Regions from separate parts of the Homo sapiens genome. Here region 1 is linked to region 2. Evidence: promoter capture Hi-C in human tissues and cell types (Jung and others, 2019). All regions are on one chromosome and are shown on one strand. Each heading gives the region's core, a stretch centred on a gene start or on the middle of the fragment in contact. The rest is flanking DNA. Distances are from core to core; before and after follow the strand shown. Region 1 has its middle 27 kb from the start of UCA1. Region 2 holds the start of CYP4F3 (cytochrome P450 family 4 subfamily F member 3).

The links. Contacts are between HindIII fragments. The study calls those that stand out against the background at their distance.
Region 1: a fragment that was not itself captured here is called in contact with the fragment with the promoter of CYP4F3 in region 2 in 2 of the 25 tissues and cell types used here (dorsolateral prefrontal cortex and spleen).

What each region holds. Positions count from the first base shown.
Region 1 is chr19:15,852,456-15,858,818 of GRCh38, reverse strand. It overlaps the pseudogene CLEC4OP. Among named protein-coding and RNA genes, the nearest start is that of UCA1, 27 kb to the right of the region's middle. The HindIII fragment of the contact is 7,299 bases long and covers 472-6,363 here.
Region 2 is chr19:15,638,373-15,645,660 of GRCh38, reverse strand. CYP4F3 (cytochrome P450 family 4 subfamily F member 3) reads right to left here and starts at 4,764. Exons shown (of 13, transcript NM_000896.3): 1 at 4,716-4,764; 2 at 4,048-4,246. The coding sequence starts at 4,245. The HindIII fragment of the contact is 9,363 bases long and covers 2,334-7,288 here.

The sequences.
Region 1 (6,363 bases), core at 2,872-5,371, 210 kb before region 2:
CCTGTGTTCAAGCAATCTCCTGCCTCAGGGTCCTTAGTAGCTGGTATTATGAGCACCCGCCACCACACCCAGCCAATTTTTGTATTTTTAGTAGAGATGGGGTTTCACCATGTTGGACAGGCTGGTCTTGAACTCCTGACCTCAAGTGATCCACCCGCCCCGGCCTCCCAATGTGCTGGGATTACAGGCGTGAGCCAACCGCGCCTGGCACATTATTCCTACAGTTGCCTTTTCCACTTAATAGGATATTTATGGCATTTTTTTTTTTTTTTTGAGACAGAGCTTCACTCTGTCACCCAGGGTGGAATGCAGTGATGCCATCTTGGCTTACTGCAATCTCCAGCTCCTGGATTCAAGCAATTCTCCCACCTCAGCCTCCCAAGTAGCTGGGACTAGGTGCGTGCCACCATGCCCAGCTAATTCTTGTATTTTTTTTGGTAGAGATGGGGTTTCACCATGTTGGCCAGGTTGGTCTCAAACTCCTGACCCCAAGTGATCCACCTGCCTTGGCTTCCCAAAGCGTTTGGATTACAGGCGTGAGCTAACACACCCAGTAGGATATTTATGGCATTTTAGTATGTCCTTCTGATATGTTTCAGTAATGTCAAGCACCAACTGTCTAGGTAGTGAGTTCCCCATTGTTGGGTGTATTCAAGTGGAAGCCATTAGGAATGTGGCCAGAAGCGAGTGGGTGGGCAACTGGGTGGAAAGCTGGATACACTAAATTTGCTAATGGCTCCATCCTCACAGAATCCTCCTGCCTGCCCTGCCCCAAGAGCTGGAAGGCCTTCCAGGGCTCCTGTTACAGCTTCTTTTCAGACAACCTCACCTGGCCCCAGGCCATTGATTCTTGTGCCCAGAAGCAGCTCACTTGGTTGTCATCAACAGCTGAGCAGAATAGGTGGGAAACGGAAAGTTAGGACCCTAGTGGAGGTGGAGGAAGGATTCTACAAGAATTTTGGGATTCCTATCCTTATCCCCTTTGGGATCATGTACAGTACTCTTAGTAGGATCTTGAAGATCTGCCTTCCCTTGCCCCAGCCCAATCTCACTGCTCCGTCATTCAGGGAACGGACCCTGTGCACTGTAGTCTTGTCTCGAAGCTCTGATTCCTGTGGGTCACTCTCTGGACAGTCCTTTCCTTTGCCATCTGCATGGAGAAGTCTTATTCATCCCTCAAAAGCCCAACACAAACATCCCTTCCTCCACATCCTCTTGTAGCATCATCAGAGATTTTTTTTTTTTAAAGATGAAGTCTCACTCTGTCGCCAGGCTGGAGTGCAGTGGCGCAATCTCAGCTCACTGCAACCTCCATCTCCCAGGTTCAAGCGATTCTCCTGCCTCAGCCTCCCAAGTAGCTGGGACTACAGGCGCCCGCCACCACGCCCAGCTAATTTTTGTATTTTTAGTAGAGATGGGGTTTCACTATATTGGCCAGAATGGTCCCGATCTCCTGACCTCAGGTGATACACCCTCCTCTGCCTCCCAAAGTATTGGGATTACAGGCATGAGCCACCGTGCCCGGCCCATCAGAGATCTTTATCCCAGAACTTCATGCTGCATTGGGGTTGCCTGGTATCCACTGACTCTGGGGCTAGATCTGAATCATGTCTGGGTCTCCTAGGCCAAAAACAAGGCTTGACCTAAGATAGGGTCTCAAGATTGTCCCTGGGATTGAGTCTCCTGACAGAAGTCTTCCTACGGCCTATAGATCAAACTGCTTGCTCTGACATGCACACTCACAGCCAATATTTATCCAGGGGGTCTTCCTAGGTGCACACACTTCTCACAATTGACTTGTGAGAATATATATATATATATATATATATATATATATATATATTTTTTTTTTTTTTTTTTTGAGACAGAGTCTCGCTCTGTTGCCCAGGCTGGAGTGCAGTGGCGCGATCTCGGCTCACTGCAACCTCCGCCTGCAGGGTTCACACCATTCTCCTGCCTCAGCTTCCCGAGTAGCTGGGACTACAGGCACCCGCCACCATACCTGGCTAAATGTTTTTTTGTATTTTTAGTAGAGACGGGGTTTCACTGTGTTAGCCAGGATGGTCTCGATTTCCTGACCTCGTGATCCACCCACCTCGGCCTCCCAAAGTGCTGGGATTGCAGGTGTGAGCCAACGTGCCCGGCCGTGAGAATATATTAAGAGCTGGGGATCTCCATTCTTTTGTTTGTGCTGATGGGGAAACTGAGGGGTGGCTGAATTGTTGGAGGCCATTGCAACGTGTATTACTTTCAATGGCAAAAACTGCGATTATTTTATTTTTTATTTCCATAGGTTTTGGGGGAACAGGTGGAATTCCTTGGAAGCTGAAATGATGGAGGCGGGGGTGTCCAGAGGGCGAGAGGAGTAAGATGCAGAGACACAGTTAGATGGGAAGACAGACAGAGGCAGGCAGGGAATTCACTGCCCTCGAATCCTGACTTTGAATCCCAGATCTACTATGTATTAGGTTGGTGCAAAAGTTATTGTGGTTTTACCACTATAGAAAACAGTGTGGAGATTCCTTAAAGAACTGAAAATAGGGCCGGACACGGTGGCTCACGCCTGTAATCCCAGCACTTTGGGAGGTGGAGGCAGGTGGATCACCTGAGGTCAGGTGGTACTTGGTTACATGAGTAGGTTATTTAGTGGTGATTTGTGAGATTTTGTGCACCCATCACCTGAGCAGTATACACTGAACCTAATTTTATCCCTCACCCCTTCCCACCCTTTACCCCCAAGTTCCCAAAGTCCATTGTGTCATTATTATGTCTTTGCATCCTCATAGCTTAGCTCCCACTTATGAGAGAACATACGATGTTTGGTTTTCCATTCCTGAGTTACTTCACTTAGAATAATGGTCTCCAATTCCATCCAGGTTGCTGCAAATGCCATTAATACATTCCTTTTTATGGCTGAGTAGCATTCCACTGTGTGTGCATATATACATACATATACACATATATACATATGTATGTATGTGTATATATACACACGTGTATATATGTATATGTGTATATATACACACGTGTATATATGTGTATATATATACACACATATTATATATGTATATATGTATATATACACACATGTATATATGTACACATACACACATATGTGTATGTGTATATATATCTCACAGTATACATATGTGTATATATTATATATGTGTGTATATATGTGTATATATATATCTCACAGTATATATATATCTCACAGTATATATCTATCTCACAGTTTCTTTATCCACTCATTGATTGATGGGCGTTTGGGCTGGTTCCATATTTTTGCAATAGTGAGTTGTGCTGCTATAAAAGTGCTTGTGCAAATATCTTTTTCGTATAATGACTTCTATTCCTCTGGGTAGATACCCAGTAGTGGGATTGGTAGATCAGATGGTAGTTCTATTTTTAGTTCTTTTTTTTCTTTTCTTTTCTTTTTGAGACAGAGTTTTGCTCTTGGTGCCCGGGCTGGAGTACAATGGTGTGATCTCGGCTCACCGCAACCTTCGCCTCCCAGCTTCAAGCAATTCTCCTGCTGCAGCCTCCCGAGTAGCTGAGATTACAGGCATGTGCCACCATGCCCAGCTAATTTTGTATTTTTAGTAGAGACGGGATTTCTCCATGTTGGTCAGGCTGGTCTCGAACTCCTGACCTCCGGTGATCCACCCGCCTTGGCTTCTCAAAGTGCTGGGATTACAGGCGTGAGCCACCGTGTCCGGCCCTATTTTCAGTTCTTTAAGGAATCTCCACACTGTTTTCTATAGTGGTAAAACCACGATAACTTTTGCACCAACCTAATACATAGTAGATCTGAGATTCAAAGTCAAGATTCAAGGGCAGTGAATTCCCTGCCTGCCTCTGTCTGCCTGCCCATCTAACTGTGATCTCTGCAACTTACTCCTCTCGCCCTCTGTACACCCCTGCCTCCATCCTTTCAGCTTCCAAGGAATTCCACCTCCCAAATGTAACTTCTTCCTTCCAGGACTTCCTGACATCAACTAACCAGGCGACATCCTGGATAGGCCTCTTCAAAGATGGCCAAGGAAGTGCCCACAGGTGGATGGATGGCTCAGCCCCCACCTACATGTGAGTATCTCCTTTGACACCAAAGATAGTCTCCCCTAAGAGGCAGGCATGGCTTTCAGGCAGTAAGTTATGACCACTGTAGGTGTTTCTCTTTCATTCATTCACAATGAAGTACCCGTAGTAGCTCCCAAACTGCCTGATATCCTTTCTGTTTTTTGTTTTTTTTAAGATGGAGTTTCACTCTTGTTGCCCAGGCTGGAGTGCAGTGGTGCGATCTTGGCTCGCTGCCACCTCTGCCTCCTGGGTTCAAGCGATTCTCCTGCCTCAGCTTTCTGAGTAGCTGGCATTACAGGCACCTGCCACCACACCCAGCTAATTTTTTGTATTTTTAGTAGAGACGGGGTTTCATCATGTTGGCCAGGCTGGTCTCAAACTCCTGACCTCAGGGGATTCGCCGGCCTCGGCCTCCCAAAGTGCTGGGATTACAGGCGTGAGCCACCGCGCACAGCCGACATCTTTTCTATTATCCTAGTTATAGTTATTTTGTTACTTGACAAGAGTGTTCCCAGTTTGGTGCTTGAGAAATTATGGGTTCAATGTCAAACTCTTTTTTTTTAAATTTAAATATACTTTATTGATAAAAAGTGCTAACAATCATCTGAGCCTTCAGAGAGAGTCATAATCTTTTTTAAATTTTATTTGAATTTTAATTTCTGGGGTACACGTGCAGGATATGCAGGTTGGTTACATAGGTAAATGTGTGCGATGATTGTTTGCTGCACCTATCAACTCATCACCTAGATATTAAACCCAGCATGCATTAGCTATTTTTCCTAATGCTCTCCCTCCCCCAACCCCACCTCCTGACAGGCCTCACTGTGTGTTGTTCCCCTCCCTGTGTCCATGTGTTCTCATTGTTTGGCTCCCACTTATAAGTGAGAACACGCTGTGTTTGGTTTTCTGTTCCTGCATTAGTTCACTGAAAATAATGGCTTCCAGCTCCATCTATATCCCTGTAAAGGACACGATCTCGTTCCTTTTTACGATTGCATAGTGTTCCATGGTGTATACGTACCACATTTTCTTTATCCAGTCTATCATGGATGGTCATTTGGGTTAATTCCATGTCTTAAATAGTGCTTCAATGAACACAGGCGTGCATGTATCCTTGTAACAGAATGATTTATACTCCTCTGGGCATATACCCAGTAATGGGATTGCTGGGTCAAATGATATTTCTGGTTCTAGATCTTTGAGGAATTCCACAATGGTTGAATTAATTTACATTCCCACCAACAGCGTAAAAGCATTCCCGTTTCTCTGCAACCTTGCCAGCACCTGTTGTCAAACTGCTTTCTTTGTTGCAGGACTTTTCAGAGCCCTGAATGTGCTAATGAGCACTAAGCCTACTCAGAAGGAGTGAAACAATGTAGCATTTGCCAACTGTATGACTTTCCCATGGCTGCCATAGCAAAGTACTGCAAACTGGGTGGCTTAAAACAACAGAAATGTGTTCTTTCACCGTTCTGGAGGCCAGAGGTTTCCAGTCAAAATGTCGGTAGGGCCATGCCCCTTCCAAAGGGTCTGAGGAAGAATCTTTCCCTGTGTTTTCCAGCTTCTGGTGGCTCCAGGCATTCCTTGGCTTGCGGCGGCATCACTCCACTGTCTGCCTCTGTCTTCTCACGGCCTTCTCCTCACCTCTGTGTCTCCTTTTTTCTGTCTGTTATAAGGACACTCAACATTGGATTTAGGGCCCACCTGACAAACCCAGGATGATCTCATCTTGAGAGCTTTCATTTAATTACAGCTGTAAAGACCCCCTTTCCAAGTAAAGTCACATGCACAGGTGTTAGGGGGTTGGACATGGCATATATTTTTGGAGAGGACACTTTAATTCACTATACCTCTTGGCATTGTCTTGCATCCTCACACTGTATGCCTTTTTCTGCGACATTTCCTACCTCCTGCATCACCTTCCCTGACTGGCAAGCTGCTCTGCATGGGGCCAAGCTTAGGGCAGAAGTTGTCTCATTGGCAGATTGATCTGCAATCTGAGCACCTTCCGTATACCTTATGTGCACTGGTCATCATATCCTCAGAATGAATTTCTATTTTGTGAAACAGGAAACGGCAGCTCATAGACATTAAGACCGTAGTCAAACAGATACAAGTGGCAGAGCTGGAATTTGAATGGGGTCTGTCTGGTTTCAAGCGGAATGGACCTTGGAGAAGGGGAGAAGCCCAGAGGGATGGGGCAGTCGGATGGTGGCCCAGGAGCTGGAAGACTTTCAGCTTTTCTGAAGACTGTGGCCTTGTTGCTACTCCTATCTGAGCTCC
Region 2 (7,288 bases), core at 3,515-6,014:
CTGCAGGGAAGAGGTGGAAGCCCTCTCCCTGAGAATTTCAAGCAGCATCTCATCTCCCTCTCAGTGCTGAGCCCCCACTGGGCTTCCTCCTCACATCCTCCATGCAGGACTCTCCAGTCCTTCAGTTACACAGACAGAAAAGCTCTTTCCCCATGTGGATCCACACACCATGTTCCCTGGGCTCTCATTCATCCCATTTTCCAGATGAAGAGACTGAGGCTCTAAATGATAAAGTAATTTGCCCATAGTCCCAGACCATGGCAAACCTGAGGCCTGAGACTGGGTCTATCTGCACCCATGGCCTGATTCCTTAACCATCAAACTTCTTTGTGCCCCCAAAACAGTAGCTCTAGAAGGCCCAGGCCTGCCGAGACTAGGCAATCAGAAACACAGGGACTGGGTGAAAAATTGATCTGGTGATCCAGGCCAGGAGAAGTAAATCATGGGCCTTTTCTGGGAACTCTGGGGGAAATGTGGGCTTTCCCATGAGAATTGAGCTTCTAGGACTCATTGTTGACGTCATGAGGGAAAGACTGTCTTGAAAGCAAAAGTGGCGTGGAAAAAGCTAAAGCCAAGAAAGGAAGACAAGCCAAAAGTGGCGTGGAGAAAGCTAAAGCCAAGAGAGGAAGTAACACTGTGTGAGACCTGGATCCAGCCATGCCTGAAGGCCATCCTCCCTGGACTTTAAAATCAATAGATTCTCTTTCTTTGCTTAGACTACACCAGGTTGGATTTCCACCACTCACAACTGAAAGAGACCTCAGTAACCAGAGACAGCTGGGAACCAGCCCAGAGTCACTCAGCATTTTGAGGCCAGAGCCATGGTCTCTGTAGGATGCTGCCTGTTTCCCTGCTCAGCCTGGCCTGTCCAAGAAGGGAAGCACAGGGGTCAAGGAGAGGGCCCCAAACTAGGCTGGAGTCTCCTTTTGGAGATTCCCAGGGCCTAGAGCAGAAAAGCAATGAACTTAGGGCAGACAAACTACAGGATGGGGTAAAAGGACTTGACCCACACCAGAGATGGACATCACAGAAATAACAGTCCAGATCCTCCACCAGCCACAAGTCCTCATTGTTCTAACCTTTGTGACAGGCAAGGTGACGCTAGACCTGGCAAGGGGCCTTGAACACTAACGATGCCCAATTGCATCACCCTGCACTCTCCTTTCAAACATCCCTACTCATTGTTCCAGACATGGCTCCAGTAACTCTTCCTCCAGGAAGGCTTCCAGCCTGCCCCAGCAGAGAACTTGCTCTTCTCTGGGCTGTCATCCATCTCCCTCTGGCCCTTTCTTGACCCCATGAAGTTGGGGATGTCTCTGTCCACATCCACCTCCTTAAGCTTGGGGGTTCCTCCAGGACAGGGCCTTGGGTTGAGGTCTCTTGGGGCCCCAGGGCAGCCCAGAACACCAGGACAGGGGGTCAGATGGCAATGGAGAGAGGAGATGCTGAGATGGGAATTAGTGAATACATGAAAGAAAGATGAAGATGGCTGAGAGAGAAGGAAAGGAGAGACCAGAGTACTGCAGGGGCCACACACGGCTTGGGGATAGAGGGACTTGCAGGCCTCAAATGCACCATAGCACCCACCACCAAGTATTCCAGGTGGTACCTGAGGCGTTGATGACAGACCGGATGATGTTGGGGTGGCAAAAACGGATGACGGGGAAGATGGGGCCCATCCAGACCTTAAAGCCCTGGGGGTAGGTGGCCACCAGCTGAGTCAGGACCCTCATGCCCTGCTCCGTGGGGGTGACCTGCAAGCAAGGCAGGGGCCGTCACCTCCTGTCATGGTTAATTCTAGGTGTCCACTTGACTGGGCTAAAGGATGCCCAGATAGTTGATCATCCGTCTGTGAGGGTGTTTCCAGAAGAGACTGGCATTCAATTTGGTAAACTGAGGAAGGAAGAATCACCCTCCCCAGTGTGGGCAGAGCTCATTCAATCTGTTGAGAGCCCAGGTAGCACAAAAATGCAGAGGAAAGGCTAATTTGCTCTGTTGTGGGGCTGGCACATCCATCTTCTCCTGCCCTTGGACACCAGAACTCCACCGTCTCAGGCCTTTGGACTCAGTTACACAACCAGTGTCTGTTTATCCAGCCTGCAGACAGCAGTCCATGACGCATCTCAGCTTCTATAATCCTGTGAGCCAATTCCCGAAATAAACTCCCTCTTCTATCTATCTATCTGTCTGTCTGCCTGTCTGTCTATCTATCTATCTATCTATCTATCTATCTATCTATCTATCTATCTATCTATTTACCTATATATATCTCTACATATCTACCTATCTATGTATCTATATATGTATGTATGTATGTATCTATCTGTCTATCTATCTATCTATCTAATCTATCTATCTACCTATGTTTCTATGTATCTATCCATCTATCTAATCCATCCATTCTATCTTATATATCTGTCTATCTATCCATTCATCTATCCTATCTGTGCATCCATTCATCCATCTAGCCTATTATCTATCTACCTACCTATCTATCTATTCATTTATCTATCTAATCTATTCATCCTATCTAACTTTTCTATCTATATATCTATCTGCCCATCCATCCATCCATCCATCCATCTTATCTGTACATTCATCCACTCATCCATTTATCCTATTATCTATCAATCATCTAGCTATCTATCCATCCATCTAATCTATCCATCCTACATATCCACTCTACCTATCTATCCACCTAATGTATCCATCTTATCTACTACTTTATGTATGTATTATCCATCCATCCATCCATCCATCCATCCATCCATCCATCTTATCCATGCATCCATCTGTCCATCCATCCATCTATCCTGTTATCTATCTATCTATCTGTCTATCTACCCACCTACTTATCCAGCCAGCCAGCCATCTATTCACCCTATCTGTGCATCCATCCATCCATCTATCCTATTACCTATCTATCTGTCTACATTCCTCCTGCTCTATCTCTCTTGGGGCCACCCCCAAGTCCCAAGAGCGCATCCCAAGGCAGAAGGAAAAGACACACTGTCCACTCACAGAGGCCCACTTAGCTTGAGAGGAAAAATTTCCTTGTTCTGGGAGTCATTTCAGCCCAGAGGTGGGCATATGAGGAGGTCCTCACAGGGGAGGTTTGTGGGGAGCAGTGTGGACTCAGGACATGTCCCTAAGGCTGGTCCCCACATCCCTTCATGCCCTGGCTGGTTCCTCCACCAGCCACACAGGTTCCAGTTCCTCCCATGGAGAAGGTTCTGCACACAGGGGACCTTCCCTTCTCAGCAGTCACTAGGGGAGCAGAGGTGACTCTAACTGTCCATCATGACAGTGGCTCCCACCTGGGAGAAGCTTCTGCACCAGGCTCTGTGCTAGTGCATCCTGTGCACCCTCCCACTTCACCTGTGGACACACCCATCAATCCTGCCATTTGCAATGAGCAGATTGAGACCACGTTCCGCAAAGGGGAGAGCAGGTCTAAGTCAGAGGGCAAGGTCTGGGGGAGGAGAAAGGTCAGGGAAGGCTTCTGAAAGGGGAAGTGAGTGGCCAACTTTTATGTGGGTTTGGCAACAGGACCCCATTGGGACATCTTACTGGGGAGGAACAAGATAAGAGGAAGGTGCCTCCGGATGTGGTGGAGGTGAGAGACAGCCCACACCTCTCCTCTGGCCCACCTATACCCTCATAAGAGGAAATAGGCCAGGTAGGGAGAGGACCCTGAACAGTGGGTACAGGAGGCCTCGAGTCCAGCAATGGAGAATGTGGGAACGCCAGGGGTTCACCTTTCTGTGCACCCAACCCCCTGCCCAAGAGCCCCGCAGAGGTGCATTAATGTGGAAAGACAGGCAGGAAAAGGATTCAACACAGGCCAAGAGTGGGAGAACAGGGAGGTGAGAAGGGCTTGGGTTGGCACCTCACAGAAATGAGTAAGCAGAGGAATGAGTAAGACGCCTCCCCTGCTTCTCTGCCACCCCAGACCCCAGCCCACCCCCTCTCACCTGAGCCTCATTCTTACCCCTCAGGAAGTCCATCCACCCTGAGACCCCAGACCCGTCCTGCTGCCACACTCACCAGGCCCAGGTGACCCAAGAACCAATTCCGTTTCGGGGGTTGCGGGAAACACCGGAGGCGGCAGCAGTTGTCATAGAAGGTATAGGTCCAGGCCAGGATGCGGGCCAGGAGCCAGGAGGCCCCAACCAGCAGCAGGAGCAGCCACGGGGATGCTGCCATTGGCCAAAGGCCCAGCGAGGACAGGCTCAGCTGTGGCATCCTGCAGGGCAGATGGGGTGGTGAGTGAGGTCCTGAGGCCCAGGGAAGGGCCCAGGGAGCTCCAGGGACAGTGGAGAGAGGCAGAGACGGGCAGTGCTGGAGATAGAACAGTAAGAGTAAACAGGGATGGATAAACAGGGGCTGAGGGGTAAAGTCCAGAAAGGCCCAGCCAAAACCAGCAACCAAGTGGCCTCCAGTTACCCGGTAAGCACTTAGATTGAGAAAGACAGAGAAACTGATTAAAGTCCAGAAAGGCCCAGCCTGAATCATTAGGACGTTGCCAGGGGCTTGGTTTCAGTTAGAAAACCACTCATCCTCCAAGCCAGCAACCAGGAGCTGCCTGGGCCTTGGGCAGCAATGGAGAATGTGGGAAGGCTGGGGCTCCCCTATGTGTGCGCCCAATCCCTTGCCCAGTGCCCATCTCCATCACAGGCTAGGATGCCCCAGGCCCACCACCCCCACCCTGGCACCTTCTGTCAGGAGCACCTTGTCCCACACAACCTCCTCTCCCCTTCTTCTGGGAGGTTTTTTCCCCTGGCCCCTGATGTAGGGAAGGCTGTGGGAGGCTAGGCTGGGCTGGGCTGGGCCAGCCAATCCCCACAGCCTGGGTGCCGCTCCCATGTCTGGGCAGCTGGCCAAAACCTGGGTGTGGGAGACCAGCTGGATGCAGAGGAACCAGCTCAGGGTGACACAGCACAGGCACTGGATCCTCAGGTCTCAGCACCTCCCACATAAGGTGGAGAGTAAGCCGAGAGGGGTCAGATAGAGTTTCCACTGTGTGACACCTGCTCTTAAAGAGCACCTACTGAGTGTGTGGCAGATAAAAGCATGAACTTGAGAGTTCAGGTGTCAAGCGAGCCAGGCCAGGCCAAGCCTTGTTCCAGATCATCTCCTGTGCTCCTCTCTAACCCTGGGCCGGTAGGACACCGTGTACCACTTCTGGATGCTGAATCAGGCAACCTGGAAGAGACAAGCCTCTATCCCCCTGCTGCTGGATGGAGTTCAAGTCTTGCCTCCAGGCAGTCCAGGGCCCTGTTGGAGACCTGACTGCTAGGAACGGGAACAAAGAATCCAGCCCCACTGAGGATTACCTGGGTCAGATTCTGGAGATTAAGAGCTCAGCTGGAAAAGCAAATCTGGAGGCCGGACTCAGTATAGGAGGACAGAGCGGGGACGTGGAGGGTTAGGATGAGAGGGAACGGATGGGGTCCAGGCAGGGGAAGGGCAGAGCCAGGGAACCATGAATGGAGTCCTCATTCTGCCTCATCCTTGCTCTGACTTTGGTCAGTACTGCCCCTCCTGGGTGCAGTCTTCCCATCTGGGAAATGGGATGTTCGATGAGGGCCTTAGCGGGGGACAATGAGGGCTCCTAAGAGGAGGGAGCCCCAAAAAGGAGTGAAGGGAAAGGGTGGCAACTAGCACTTGAGCTGCTGTGTGCCAGTCTCTACTCTGCACAAAGGCTGCATGGAAAGTACTTCTACTGTGTGCCAATACTCTAAATGAAGGGCAGCTACTGTGTGCCAGGTGCTAAATCCTGTCTACTCTGTGCCAAGTGCTTTCCATAAAGTGTGCCTACTGTGTGCCAGGTGCTCTACATTAACCCTGTATACTCAGTTCCTGATATTCCTCATAGAGTGCCTACTGTGTGCCACCTGCTCTACATAGTGAGTGCCTATTGAGTGCCACCCCCTGTATATGAAGAGTGCCCACTGAGCACCAGTTGCTGTCTACATAACACATGCCTACTGAGTGCCAAGTGCTCTACATAAACAGTGCCTACTGATACCACCTGCTCTATATGGTGACTTCCTACTGAGTGTTTCCTGATCTACATAAAGAGGGTCTATTGAGTGCTGCCTGCTCGAGTGTTGCCTGTGCTCCATAAAGTGTACCTACTGTGGGCTGCCTTCTGTACATAAAGGGTGCCTACTGAGTGCTGCTTGCTCTACATGAAGAGTTCCTACTCTTGCCTGCGCTACATAAAAAGTGCCTACTCAGTACCACCTGCAATACATAAAGAGTGCCTACTGGCCAGGCACAGTAGCTCATGCCTGTAATCCAAGCACTTTGGGAGGCCAAGGCAGGCAGATCATCTGAGGTCGGGAGTTCAAGACCAGCCTGGCCAACATGGTGAAACCCCATCTCTACTAAAAATACAAAAATTAGCCGGGCGTGGTGGCGGGCACCTATGATCCCAGCTACTCGGGAGGCTGAGGCAGGAGAATCTCATGAACCCGGGAGGCAGAGTTTGCAGTGAGCTGAGTTCATACCACTGCACTCCAGCCTGGGCAACAGAGTGAGACTCTGTCTCACAAAAAAATAAAAAAGAGAGAGAGCCCATTGAATGCCACTTGCTCTAGATAAAGAGTGCCTACAGATGCCACCTGCTCTATATAAAGAGTGTTTACTGAGTATCATCTGCTCCTGATAAAGAGTGCCTACTCACTGCTGCCTGCTCTACATAAAGAGTGCCTACTGCTGCCACCTGCTCTTCATAGTGTGCCCACTCTGTGACTCATGGTCTACATATGGTCTACATAGAGTTTCTACTGTGTGACACCTGCTCTTAAAGAGTGCCTACTGGGCCAGGCACAGTGGCTTACACCTGCAATCCCAGCACTTTGGGAGGCCGAGGCGGGCAGATCACGAGGTCAGCAGTTCGAGACCAGCCTGACCAACATGGTGAAACCCTGCTTCTACTAAAATTACAAAAAATTAGCTGGGCATGGTGGTGTGTGCCTGCAATCCCAGCTACTCAGGAGGCTGAGGCAGGAGAATTGCTTGAACCCAGGAGGCAGAGGTTGCAGTGAGCTGAGATCATGCCACTGCACTTCAGCCTAGGAGACAGAGCGATACTCATCATCAAAAAAAAAAAAAGAGTGCCTACTGAGTAAATGTTTTTTTGGTTTTTTGCTTTTTTTTGGTTTTGGTTTTTTTTTTTTTTTTTTTGAGACGGAGTCTCACTCTTGTTGCCCAGGCTGGAGTGCAATGGCCCTATCTTGGCTCACAGCAACCTCCGCCTCCGATTCTCCTGCCTCAGCCT